Linked DNA regions of Homo sapiens: regions 2 and 3 are each linked to region 1. Evidence: promoter capture Hi-C in human tissues and cell types (Jung and others, 2019). All regions are on one chromosome and are shown on one strand. Each heading gives the region's core, a stretch centred on a gene start or on the middle of the fragment in contact. The rest is flanking DNA. Distances are from core to core; before and after follow the strand shown. Region 1 holds the start of PTPN1 (protein tyrosine phosphatase non-receptor type 1). Region 2 overlaps CSE1L (chromosome segregation 1 like). Region 3 overlaps ZFAS1 (ZNFX1 antisense RNA 1).

Evidence for each region. The method cuts DNA at HindIII sites, captures the fragments that hold promoters and counts their contacts. A contact is called where the count stands out against the background at its distance.
Region 2: a contact is called between a fragment that was not itself captured here and the fragment with the promoter of PTPN1 in region 1, in 1 of the 25 tissues and cell types used here (spleen).
Region 3: a fragment that was not itself captured here is called in contact with the fragment with the promoter of PTPN1 in region 1 in 1 of the 25 tissues and cell types used here (spleen).

The regions. Positions count from the first base shown.
Region 1 is chr20:50,508,165-50,512,546 of GRCh38, forward strand. PTPN1 (protein tyrosine phosphatase non-receptor type 1) reads left to right here and starts at 2,219. Exons shown (of 10, transcript NM_002827.4): 1 at 2,219-2,426. The coding sequence starts at 2,364. RefSeq lists enhancers at 1,393-1,980, 2,193-2,292 and a silencer at 1,853-2,082. The HindIII fragment of the contact is 10,222 bases long and covers 1-3,408 here.
Region 2 is chr20:49,058,577-49,062,958 of GRCh38, forward strand. All of the region lies in intron 2 of CSE1L (chromosome segregation 1 like), which reads left to right. Among named protein-coding and RNA genes, the nearest start is that of CSE1L, 14 kb to the left of the region's middle. The HindIII fragment of the contact is 4,419 bases long and covers 96-4,382 here.
Region 3 is chr20:49,286,889-49,291,270 of GRCh38, forward strand. ZFAS1 (ZNFX1 antisense RNA 1) reads left to right here. Exons shown (of 4, transcript NR_036658.2): 4 at 2,157-2,372. Among named protein-coding and RNA genes, the nearest start is that of SNORD12, 8.4 kb to the left of the region's middle. RefSeq lists enhancers at 1-347, 348-1,279, 3,449-3,558. The HindIII fragment of the contact is 4,845 bases long and covers 1-4,382 here.

The DNA.
Region 1 (4,382 bases), core at 969-3,468:
GTGGTGGGATTACAGGCGTGAGCCACCACAGCCAGTCAGTTTTCTCGTTTATAAAATGGGAATAATAGCACCTGTATTGAAGGGTTGTTGTGGAGATTGAATGGGAATGTGTACTTAGAATTCCAGGCATAGTGCCTGCCACAAGCACTCAAGGAATGAGCTGGAGTTCAGCTGATAATACCAGGCAGTGTCTCTGGGCAACACGGAATGAAGACAATTCTCTCTTCCAGGTTTTCAAACCTCCTGGAATTCACAACGTCCACATGACATGCCAGGCCCAGAGGGGGATGGTTTAAACTGGAGCCTGCAGGAAGGCAACCTGACCAACCTGCTCATGGGTGCTTTAAGGATCATAGGTACGAGAATCAGCTGGAGTTGTTGGTGAAAATGCAGATTCCGGGTCTCATCCCTAGACCAAAGATATCTGAATCATTTGGCGATGGGTCCAGGAACCTGCATTATTCAACACACTTCCCAGGTGACCGTAAATGTCAAAAGACAAAATTACAACAAACTTAAACATCTTAATTGGCTTCATTCATGATTCTAGAATCGGGCAAGACTTCATTCCTCAAAATAGCACAAGTGTCCCAATGAGCTGAGCAGAGGAGGTTGGTTTTATAGACAGAAAAGGGCTGAAAAAAGCAGAAACAAAGAACAAAAAGCAGATTGGTCATTTCAAAGTTACTTTCCTTGTAAGGCAGGAACAGGGAAACAGAACAAGAGAGAAATAACTGATTGGTCGCATCGGGTTACTTCAGGTTACTTTTTGTTGTAAGGATTAAAGCAAAGGGAACTTCATTATGTTGATTAAAACGGTCTGCTTGGGAAATCAGGGTGTGTATCTCTCTTCTGATTTTGTGAAAGGTTATCAGTCTGATGATGTAGAACTTTAGCATGAGTGACTCCATTTTGATTTTTAGTCTAGTCTGTTGAGACCCTAATGCCAGAACTTTTTTTGTTTGTTTGTTTCGCTCTTGTTGCCCAGGCTGGAGTGCAGTGGAGCTATCTTGGCTCACTGCAACCTCTGCCTCCAGGGTTCAAGCGATTCTCCTGCCTCAGCCTCCCAAGTAGCTGGGATTACAGGCATGCGCCACCACGCCCGGCTAATTTTTTTTTTTTTTTTTTTTTTTAGCAGAAACCGAGTTTCACCATGTTGGTCAGGCTGGTCTCGGACTCTTGACCTCAGGTGATCCACCTGCGTCGGTCTCCCAAAGTGCTGGGATTACAGGTGTGAGCCACCACACCCAGCCCTTTTTTTTCAAGACAGGGTCTCTCTCTGCCACCCAAGGTGGAGTGCAGTGGCGCCAAAACAGCTCACTGCAGCTTCCACCTCCTGGGCTCAGGTGATCTTCCTGCCTCAGCCTCCCCAGCAGCTGGGCCCCACCACACCGGCTAATTTTTTAACTTTTAGTAGTGACGAGGTCTGATTCTGTTACCCAGGCTGGTCTGGAACTCCTGGCCTCAAGACATCCGCCTGCCTCTGCCTCCCAAAGTGCTGGGATTACAGATGTAAGCCACCGCGCCTGGGCTCCTATGATTTTTATTTAACATAATGCACCATGGAATTTGTGCTCTGCTTAGTTCAGTCTGAGCAGGAGTTCCTTGATACTTCGGGAAACACTGAAAATCATTCCATCCCCATCCATTCATTCCTGCAGCACCCAAGTGGAAATTCTGCGTTTCAGACAGGGACACTACCCTTAGAGAGCAGTGGGCTTCCCCAGCAGCGTAGTGAAACATGATACTCCTGAGTTTCATGAAAAAAGGGCAGACATCTGGCCAGAGCTGGGAGGCAGGAAATAGAGCACGGTGCCCTCCTCCCATACTCCAGCTTGGATTACTGAGGCTGGGGCCCAGGCCCTGCAGGAAAGGAGGTGCATGACTACTTTAAGGCCACTCACTCTGTGACTCAACGGGCCGGGTCGGGGCTGGAACTCAATGCCCTCCCGGGCCTGGAGAGCCCACGCGCCGTGGGCGGGGCTCCCGGGGTCGCCTAGGCAACAGGCGCGCGCCGCGCCCGAGCCCAGAGCCCCAAAGCGGAGGAGGGAACGCGCGCTATTAGATATCTCGCGGTGCTGGGGCCACTTCCCCTAGCACCGCCCCCGGCTCCTCCCCGCGGAAGTGCTTGTCGAAATTCTCGATCGCTGATTGGTCCTTCTGCTTCAGGGGCGGAGCCCCTGGCAGGCGTGATGCGTAGTTCCGGCTGCCGGTTGACATGAAGAAGCAGCAGCGGCTAGGGCGGCGGTAGCTGCAGGGGTCGGGGATTGCAGCGGGCCTCGGGGCTAAGAGCGCGACGCGGCCTAGAGCGGCAGACGGCGCAGTGGGCCGAGAAGGAGGCGCAGCAGCCGCCCTGGCCCGTCATGGAGATGGAAAAGGAGTTCGAGCAGATCGACAAGTCCGGGAGCTGGGCGGCCATTTACCAGGTGCGGGAGCGCCCCGGAGCGTGGCGGGCCCTTCGCTTAGGCCGCTTGAACATCCCCTCAGACCTCCAGGCCCCAGACTCCCTCTGGGTCTTGCCCTCTGCCTCGCTCCTACTGCTTGAGGATTCGATGGGACAGCGACGCACTGCGTCCCCCCACCCTTTGTCCCCGGGGCGGGCGTGTTTCTCGCCGCAGCGTCGGAGCCCCCTTCGATCCCCCACCTCCCTTCTGTTCTCCAGCTCGGGTGATCTCTCAAGCCGGGGGACCGCCGGTCTGTGCTCTCAACGCGAATCCCTCGCACCCCGACCCCGCCCCCTGCCTGTCCACTCTTTGTCCCCTGGGGTGATTTAGCACCCCCACTATTTCCTTTTCTGGAGTGGACCACCTCAGACTCTCTTCCTTTGTCTCCCTGGGGGAAAAGGTTACTCCCCCCGTCCCTCCTTCACATTTCCTTTCCCCTAGTCTCAGTGTGCGTCGAGTCCCAGAGATGACAGTCCCCTTTCCCCTTTCTGTTCATTCATTTATTGGATAGGAGTTGGCAAGCTTATTCTGTGCTAGGCACCGCTTAGGCATTGGAGGTGGTGTTTGCTAATCAGGACAGGCAAGATCCTAGCCTTAGTGGGGCCTAGAGTCGAATAGGGCAATCAAACACAAAAGCAAATAATTTCAGATAGTGACAGGTGCTGTGAAGAGAACGACTTCCTAACGGGGTACAGGGTGACTGCATAGAAGGCCGGCTGTCTTAGAGAAGGGGATCAGGGAAGGCCTGTCAAAGGAGGAGACATTTGCTTTGTGAGCTGAACCAAGAGGAGCAGAAAGCCGTGAGAATATGGGGCTAAAGAACCTTCTAGCCAGGAGGCCTGCGGTACCCACTCCATTGGGGCCATGATATTATTCTTTCAGGCAGGGACTCAGGAAGGTTAACGTTTTAACCCTCTCTAAAATAGCATCTTTCCTCAATGAGCAGCTTAGTCTTTGGTCGTGGCAGAGATGACCTTGTCTTAGGAGTCATCTCCTTGTGTGTTAAAAAGTTAGGAAAGGAGGGTTTCTCATATATCTATAAAACAAGTAGTTAAAAACACAAAGAGCTCTTCCTTTCACAAGCAGCTGAATAAGATACATACTCCCAATTAAATGTCATTGCGGGGGTTGTTAAGATTAACTAAAACCACACTTGCACAGTATCTTAAATAAGCGATATACAGAATAGAGAGATTTTGTTACTTGTGTAAAGGGAGACAGCAGATGATTCTGTTTTCAGCTTATAGGCTCAAAAGGCAAATTGTGAGATCCATCAGCTGTAGTATTAAAATCTATTTTGAGCTCCGCTTAGAAAGGAAAAAAGGTTTAAGCAGTTCTTTGGTATGCTTGACTAACAAAAGCCTTTTTTTTTGGCAGCCTTGATTTTCATGTGGATTTACATCAAGCTTATTTGACAGGATTCTTTTTATTTGGACTGTAGTGTGTATATTAGTTTCTGCTAGACTAATATTTCTAACCACTGTAATCTATATACTAATAAGTATGATTGATCAGTATATAAAATTTGTATGCCATATCTGGTCTCTGAATTAGCTGAATGAATTCCATAAGGGACTTTGAGACTGTGTAGACAAATTTTCTGCATCAGTTTAATGCAGTAGAGTCTAAAATGTCTTTAAATGAAAATTGTTGGTCTGAAGTGTTGGAGTTGATTATGATACACCCCATCACAGTGGAAGCATTGTGGAGAGAAGTCTTTTCCACTGAAATTGACTGAGTTGACAACAAGAAATACGTATTGTAACTTAGTTCTTAGTTGAATTTTATTTCTTACAATTTTAAGCCAGAGTGGGTTGACCTGTCACCCAAGCATGGTTAAAATTGTATTCAGCATGCAACTAGCATGGAGTGTGTCAGTCTTCAATTCATTTCCTTCATTGTTCTTAAGTTTTTCTGCCACAATTAAACCCCACAAGT
Region 2 (4,382 bases), core at 1,055-3,554, 1.4 Mb before region 1:
TTAATTCCTTCAGGACAGGTGAGAGAAACCTATGTATTATCTGCCTCCTTATAAATATATTTTAAAAAATTCATACTTGGGTTCTCAAGCGTAGTTTATAAGTGTTACAGCTGCTATACCATGGTGTGTTGTTTCTTTTTTGAGTAAAATAGCTTTTATTTGGCATCTTCTGGGATTAAAAAGTACTAGTTTTCGGATAAAAAGTACTGACATGTTTAGAATGCTTTGTCTTTGACCTTTTCCAAAATACCCACTTAAAACATGCCTGCTTTAGGCCGGATGCGGTGGCTCACACCTGTAATCCCAGCACTTTGGGAGGCTGAGGCAGGCGGATCACGAGGTCAGGAGATGGAGACCATCCTGGCTAACACGGTGAAACCCCGTCTCTACTAAAAGTACAAAAAATTAGCCGGGCGTGGTGGCGGGTGCCTGTGGTCCCAGCTACTCAGGAGGCTGAGTCAGGAGAATGGCGTGAACCCCGGAGGCAGAGCTTGCAGTGAGCCGAGATTGCGCCACTGCACTCCAGCCTGGGCGACAGAGCAAGACTCCGTCTCAAAAAAAAAAAAAAGCCTGCTTTAGAGATAAAATAATTAGGGCATAGAAAGGAGAGTAATTGCCTAAAAAGTGATTAAGTGAATGAAGCCAAGTAATCAGTTACTGTCTCTTAATTTTAATTTTCTATTGGGTTTGATTTAACTAATATATTTTAAGACCTAGAGCTTTTTTTTTCCTTCCTGAATCTGACCAGATTCCATTAAAAACGTAGAATTAAAATATTGAACTCAGGTGTTCACAGGACTCAGCTGTTAAGTTAAATGAGGGAGATAGGCCAAGTGGAGACTGGTAATATCAGGAGAATACATGCCCTGATTAAGTGGCAAGTACTTTTTGGAACTAGCTAATTTTGGGGATTCAGACTAGTTTTGCAAGATCAGATTTCCAGTTTTGCTTGAAAAATAAGGATATTTATATGAAGTGCCCTCATTTTTAAATGTTAGCAAGTAACTTCAAAAGATTTTGGGGCCGGGTGCGGTGGCTCACGCTTGTAATCCCAGCACTTTGGGAGGCCGAGGTGGGCAGATCACGAGGGCAGGAGATCGAGACCATCGTGGCTAATATGGTGAAACCCCTTCTCTACTAAAAAATACAAAAACTTAGCTGGGTGTGGTGGCACACACCTGTAGTCCCAGCTGCTCAAGAGGCTGAGGCAGGAGAATTGCTTGAACCTGGGAGGTGGAGGTTGCAGTGAGTTGAGATTGCGCCACTGCACTCCAGCCTGGGTGACAGAGCGAGACGTAGTCCCAAAAAAAAAAATATTTTGAAACACAGCCAGGGTTGGTGGTCACGCCTTTAATCCCAGTAATTTGGGAGGCCAAGGCAGGAAGATCCCTTGAGTCCAGGAGTTCGAGACCAGCCTGGGCAACAAAGCAAGACCCTGTCTCTACAAAAAATTTAAAAATTAGCCAAGTGTGGTGATGTGTGCCTGTATTCCTAGCAACTGGGGAGGCTGAGACAAAAGCTTCACTTATACCCAAGAGGTCGGAGCTGCAGTGAGTTATGATCATGTCAGTGCACTCTAGCCTGGGTGACAGAGGGAAATCTTGTCTTAAAAAAAAAAAAAAAAAGGCCAGGTGCATTTGCTCACGCCTGTAATCCCAGCATTTTGGGAAGCCAAGGCAGGCGGATCATGAGGTCAAGAGATCTAGACCATCCTGGCCAATGTGGTGAAACCCTGTCTCTACTAAAAATACAAAAATTAGCTGGGCGTGGTGGTGCACGGCTGTAGTCCCAGATACTTGGGAGGCTGAGGCAGGAGAATTGCTTGAATCCAGGAAGCGGAGGTTGCAGTTAACCGAGGCCACTGCACTCCAGCCTGGTGACAGAGCAAGACTCCGTCTCAAAAGAAAAAAAAAAATTGGACAGGCACATTTGCTCACGCCTGTAATCCCAGCACTTTGGGAAGCCCAGGAGGGCAGATCACCTGAGGTCAGGAGTTTGAGACCAGCCTGGCCAACATGGTGAAACCCTGTCTTTACTAAAAATACAAACATTAGCCAGGCATGGTAGCATGTGCCTGTAACCCCAGCTACTTGGGAGGCTGAGGTGCAAGAATCGCTTGAACCCAGGAGGTGAAGGTTCCAGTGAGCCAAGATTGCCCAACTGCACTCCAGCCTAGGTGACAGAGTGAGACTTTGTCTCAAAAAAAAAAAAAATTGAAATACAGTGCAAGCCAAACTACTTCTGGGCCAGATATATCTTGTGAGCAGTCAGTTATTGATCCTTGATATGGGCCATATTAAAATGCTCTTGACCTGTTTCTTCAAAACTTACCAATGTGCATGCTCATAGAGGATGTTGGAAGGGTTCCATGAGGAAGAGAATGTGTGTTATATATTATGTATGATGACTAGAATCATGAACATGTTAATGCATCTATCCTCTTCTAGAAAAGTCTTTGTGATTTTTGAGAGGAAAAATTAGTTTATTAGTGTATAAAGAAGTAATGTGTTCCTGGATAAAGGGAAGTTAATGGCTCTAATCTTTAATCTTCTTAGACTTTCAAAGAAAGCTGTTGCCAACACTATTAAAAATTTTTTTTTTTTTTTTTTTTTTGGAGACGGAGTCTCCCTCTGTCGCCCAGGCTAGAGTGCAGTGGCGCCATCTTGGCTCACTGCAAGCTCCGCCTCCCGGGTCCACGCCATTCTCCTGCCTCAGCCTCCTGAGTAGCTGGGACTACAGGCGCCCGCCACCATGCCTACCTAATTATTTGTATTTTTAGTAGAGACAGGGTTTCACCGTGTTAGCCAGGATGGTCTCCATCTCCTGACCTCGTGATCCACCCGCCTCAGCCTCCCAAAGTGCTGGGATTACAGGCATGAGCCACCGTGCCCGGTGGAAAAATTATTATTATTATTTATTTATTTATTTATTTATTTATTTATTTTTGAGACAGAGTCTCACTCTTGCCCAGGCTGGAGTGCAGTGGCGCCATCTTGGCTCACTGCAAGCTCCACCTCCCGGGTTCACCCCATTGTTGTGCCTCAGCCTCCCGAGTAGCTGGGACTACAGGCGCCCGCCACCACACCCGGCTAATTTTTTGTATTTTTAGTAGAGACGGGTGTTTCACCAGGTTAGTCAGGATGGTCTCGATTTCCTGACCTTGTGATCCACTCGTCTCGGCCTCCCATAGTGCTGGGATTACAGGTGTGAGCCACCGCACCCGGCAATTATTTTTTTTTTAATAATGTGTGAGGCAAGAGTTCTGTTGCTTTATGTATTCAGGACAGAGTATAAAAATAATCTGGTATTTCTGGGAAGTTAGGAACATAGCATTTCTCAGGGATCGAGACTGACTGACTAGACTGACTCAACTAGACCTTTTGAGACTCCTTGAGTGCGCAGAAACATATGCATGTGAATATTGTGATAAGTTGAAAGAAATGAACACAGAAAGGAACAGACTCAAACTCACTTCCTGGATATTGATTACAATTTAGGAAAGAGACTTGGCAATTTATATGGGCTTTTCCTCAAATCATGGATGTAGTGTGTTGCCCTGTACAAAATGCTGGCTACTAAGTGGAGGAAACAAATTGTTCTGTACTCATATAAAACCATAGTATGTCCCCTCCTGAAAAACATTTTTCAGTTTAACAATCTTCATCCTTCAAGAAAGACATGATAAGCACAAAGCAAGGAGAGTTTGAAAATATCAGTGAAACTCTTGGGACTCAGTCAGAAAGAGGGAAGGTGTTAAATGATACATGAAATTAATTTTTCAAAAAATATTGGAATATTGGGTGTTGCCCTATGAAGCCAAAGGTAGAAAAAAATTAAGAGAAATACTGTACTGCCATCACATGTGATCATTAACCTAGGAAATTTATCCCAGAATGTAATCTGGGTTGAAAATCTATTGGTAAATTTTTTGGATAAATTCATTGCTGGTATTAAGAAGTTTTTAGGTTTTTTTTTAGTTCGACAAGAAAGCTTAGGGCTGGTAAGGTAAAATAAGGACTGCACTAAAACTTTCAGTAGTGAAGCCTAGCTGTGTGATCTTGAACAAGTTACTTAACCTTAGTGCCTTGGTTTTTTAAATGCTATCTACTTTTCTGGGTAATAGTGACAACTAAATGAAATTTTATAATTTTACATATATAATATATATGTAAATCGTTGGACCCATTTGGCTAATAATAATATATTAGGATGAATTGACTCATTTGCTCTTCATCACTAGCCTATAAAAGAAATATTACTACTAATAGTACTAATAATACTCCTTTCTGAAATAAGACCTGGGTATATGAAGTCTTGAAGCCACTTAATCTGCCTGGGAAGCAGCTTCTCTTGCAGATGAGATGATCATCCAATTAGGCCAC
Region 3 (4,382 bases), core at 1,092-3,591, 1.2 Mb before region 1:
CAGTATGTGAGGATCCTTTCCGCCTGTGTTGCTGAGAGTCTGGGTTTATGTGTCACCTTGGGTGGGACCCAATCTCCTGTTTGTGAGGCCACCGCAAAGAGGTGGTGGGATGCCTCTCCTCAAGAGAGGTGATCGTGGGCTTCTCCTGAAGGAGAACGGTAATCCCAGATGAGCTCCCAAATTGTTGGCAATAAGAGCTCAGAGTTGCAAAGAAAATGATCTCCAAAAGATTTCTCAGCAAGGCAGATTTACTTCTGCAGAATGGTGCTGCTTGCACTCCTGGTCACAGTGAGAGCACCCCGAACAAAGGAGGTGAAGTGGTTTTTATCCCTAACACAGCTAGTTCCTGCTTCTGTGTTCTATCCCCATTGGCTAGAGTCCAATCTAAACTAGTCCTGATTGGCTATTTTAAACAGGAGGGGTGTGGGTTACAGCAGTGGGAAGAGCAGTTGCCACGAGCGAGGGAGACTTTTCCAGATAAGGAACAAATGCGGGTTACAGGTTGGGATTGGTGGGAGAAATGTTTACAGAATGGGTAATTAGGAGTGGGAAGGTATGAGGAAGTTGACCTTAAGAACAAAGAACAAGGAAGTTAAACTTTGAAGAGAAACCCATCATACCTAACAGTCTTGTAAGAAAGGATGACAAAGTGATTGAACATTGGGTGGAGCTAATTTTCCTTGGCCAATTCACTTAGTAAGATAAGGAGCTCCAAATCATATTTAAGTTGGGAGTCAATTGATTTTACTTAATTCTTGTGAGGTTCAGTTATAAGATTCATCATACTACTACCATGAGCCATCCTCAGCTCCTTGTTACATGGGCCTGTTAACATGGCAGCTTTGTCTATAAGCAAACCCAGGAGAGAAAGACATAGCAGAGATGGATGTTTGAAGTCTATACCTTCCACCCCCTTTAAAGAGAAAGTAACACCACTCCTTTTCTGTGTCCCTTGGGGACACTACCTCCATGTCTGGTCACATGGCTGGACTTTACAGCAGATAAGCATACTGTGGCCTGAGACCATGATTGTATGCTTTCCTTCTGCTGACCTTTACAATCCCTCAATAAATTGAGCTAACACAGGGAAGCTTTTTTACCAAATAACTGTGTTGCATCATCCTCCAGTTTGCCTGGTGTCCTTAATCAATGGAAGGGGAATAAGCAAACTGAGTTTTCTTACACCTTTTGAGTATAGTGTTTTTGCCATCATAGATGTGGCTCCTCATAATTCTCCAACTTTTATATTAAAAAACCAAAACCTCAAAAATTGTAGTTCATGTCAGTCAGTGATGACTCATCTTAGAAGTATTTTGTTTTTGGATGTGTGAATGTGCATAGTTCTTAAAGTCCAACATTCATGTAATAAGACATCTTGCATATAACAATGACCCTTACGTCTAAGATGTTAAATAGATCCTAAGCCTGGTATAACTTTATTCAAGTATCCTTATTTGCCCCTAAAATGTCTTTAATACACATTACTTGGGTTATTTCTTGAATGAACATACAGGTATCCCAATTTCTGTTTTTAAGAGAATGGGGTCTTGCTCTGTCACCCAGGCTGGAGTGCAGTGGTGCAGTCATGGCTTACTGCATCCATGATCCTCCTGCCTCAGCCTCCCAAGTAGATGGGACTGAAAGCACACACTGCCATCCCTGGCTAATGTTTTCATATTTTGTAGAGTTGCAGCCTTGCTACGTGACCCAGGCTGGAGTGTAGTAGCTATTCACAGGCATGATTGCTTGAAACTCATGGCTTCAAGGGAAACTCCCACCCTCAATATCCTCAGTAGCTGCAACTACAGCCATACCCCCCACTGCTCAGCTTCTCATCCTTTAAAAGATTTTTACTGGTAGTGTCCTCATTCTGGGTTTTTGTCTTCTGTGTTTACTGTGACATGAAGTCATTTTTAGATGAAGGTTAAACATTTTGCCAACGCAGGTACAATATGGGATTCAATAAAAGTACAGAATTAAAGTTGTCTTATTAGAGATTGGGAAGTTTCCCAGCTCCGTTTATCGGTACTTGGCCGTACCGATAAAGGGGATGGACTTGGAGTGACCAGGTCTTAGTCACATGTATTTTCATACCCTAAACAAGAAGCGGTATAGACCAGAATGGAGCACTGATTGTAATCCACCTTCTTTCTTAGAAACTGGCGATGGAATATGAGAGGAGCCCTCTGGAAAGAAAAGGACAGACCCTGTGCTTTCATGAAAGTGAAGATCTGGCTGAACCAGTTCCACAAGGTTACTGTATACATAGCCTGAGTTTAAAAGGCTGTGCCCACTTCAAGAATGTCATTGTTAGACTTTGAAATTTCTAACTGCCTACCTGCATAAAGAAAATAAAATCTTTTAAATCAAAATGCTGTTTTGTTTGGCCATTGGAGATAACCATTGAACAGGGATAACAAGTAGTAGTTAGGTATTTGCAGTTTCATTTGGTTTTAGTTTTTTGAGGGGAGAATCACCCTAGTGGGCAGTTGGTTTCTGTGGGCAAAGCCTGCTTTCCACAGGTATTGTGCCTCGTGATTGGCTTCTGCATTGGAAACCTAAGAATAAGCAAGCACACTTGGGCCAGAATTCAAAGCAGAGGGTCAATACAGAGGTATCTCACTTGTATGCTTACACCTGCACAAGATCGTGTATGTTAAATCGTGGGTATTAGGCCTTAATGGTTGCATGAGATGAGTAAGGATGATGTGGGCTATGGTATTTGTTTATAAACTTCATAGGAAATTGCAAAAATAGGCTGCATCATTTATCAATATGTGATGATTTTTTATTTAAAATACACAGTGAATAATTTTTTAAGTATCTTAAAATCTCACCTCAAAGATGGGACCTCTAGATTTCTTTTTTTTTTCTGAGGCAGAGTCTCGCTGTGTCACCCAGGCTGGAGTGCAGTGGCATGATCTCAGCTCACTGCGAGCTCTGCTTCCTGGGTTCACATTCTCCTGCCTCAGCCTCCCAAGTAGCTGGGACTACAGGTGCCCGTCACCACGCCCGGCTAATTTTTTGTATTTTTAGTAGAGACGGGTTTTCGCTGTTTTAGCCAGGATGGTCTTGATCTCCTGACCTTGTGATCTGCCCACTTCGGCCTCCCAAAGTGCTGGGATAACAGGCATGAGCCACTGCGCCCAGCCTGGGACCTCTAGATTTCTAAAATGACTCCTGGTATTGACTCAGAATCCCCTCCCCTTGACTAGGCTGGACCTAGTGTAACTTCTGAGACTTGCTAGCTCTTTTTCTCATTCTCCTTGGCTTGCTCACTTTTTTTTTTTTTTTTTGAGATCTCAGCTCACTGCAACCTCCGTCCCCTGGGTTTAAGCAAATTCTCCTGCCTCACCCTCCCGAGTAGCTTGGATTACCACGCCTGGCTAATTTTTGTATATTTAGTAGAGGGGGTTCACCATGTTGGCCAGGCTGGTCTTGAACTCCTGACCTCAAGTGATCTGCCTGCGTCAAGCCTCCCAAAGTGTTGGAATTACAGGCGTGAGCCACCACGCCTGGCCTAGCTTGCTCACTTTTAATTAAGCTGCCATGTTGGGAGAGGCCAGCGTAGCAATCAACTGAGGTTGAACCATTAGTGTGGGAGGAGTTACCCAACAACCATGTGAGTTTGTAAGCACGTCTTTCTGTAGCGGAGGCTTGTGAGAAACCCTGAGAGCGGACCCACCCAGATTGTGCTTGGATTTCTGACCTATGGGAAATGTATTTCAAGCCACTAGGTTTTGAGATAACTTGCTACAAAGCAGTAAATTCACAACTCTATAATGCCCACTCTAAAGGTCCTGACATGGGCATCTCCATTACCTAAGTCAACTGATGCTACTTCAATTTCTCCACGTAGCATTTGAAGCGTTTATGTCTGGCCCCAGCCTACATTTTCAGACTTATTTGTGCATTTGACTTAACATGTCCAAAACTAAATGCCTGATGCTTCACTCACCTAACCCCATTCCCTGCAAGTCTGTGCTTCCTGCGATCTTCCCTTCCCAGGTATTGGCAACACCAGAAGTCCAGTTGGTCAGGAGCTGTGGAATCAACCTCATGTACCATGTGAATCCCTTGGCAAATGCTATTGGTTCTACCTTCAAAATACATCTGAAACCCACCCCCTCTTAGCGTCTTCATTGCTACCACCTTGGTACAAACCATCAAACAAGCTTGGAATACTGGTCTCTACTTCAGCCTTTGCTCCCTACGATCAATTGAGATGCAACCAGAGCGATCTGTGAAAACCTGAATTAGGTATGGAGCTCTCTGCTCAGAAGCCTCCAGTGTCTTCCCCACCTCACACAGTAAAAGCCAAAGTCCATCAGGGCCTACATGATCTTCCCCTTCCCTTAACCTCTAACTTCATCTCTTCCCTT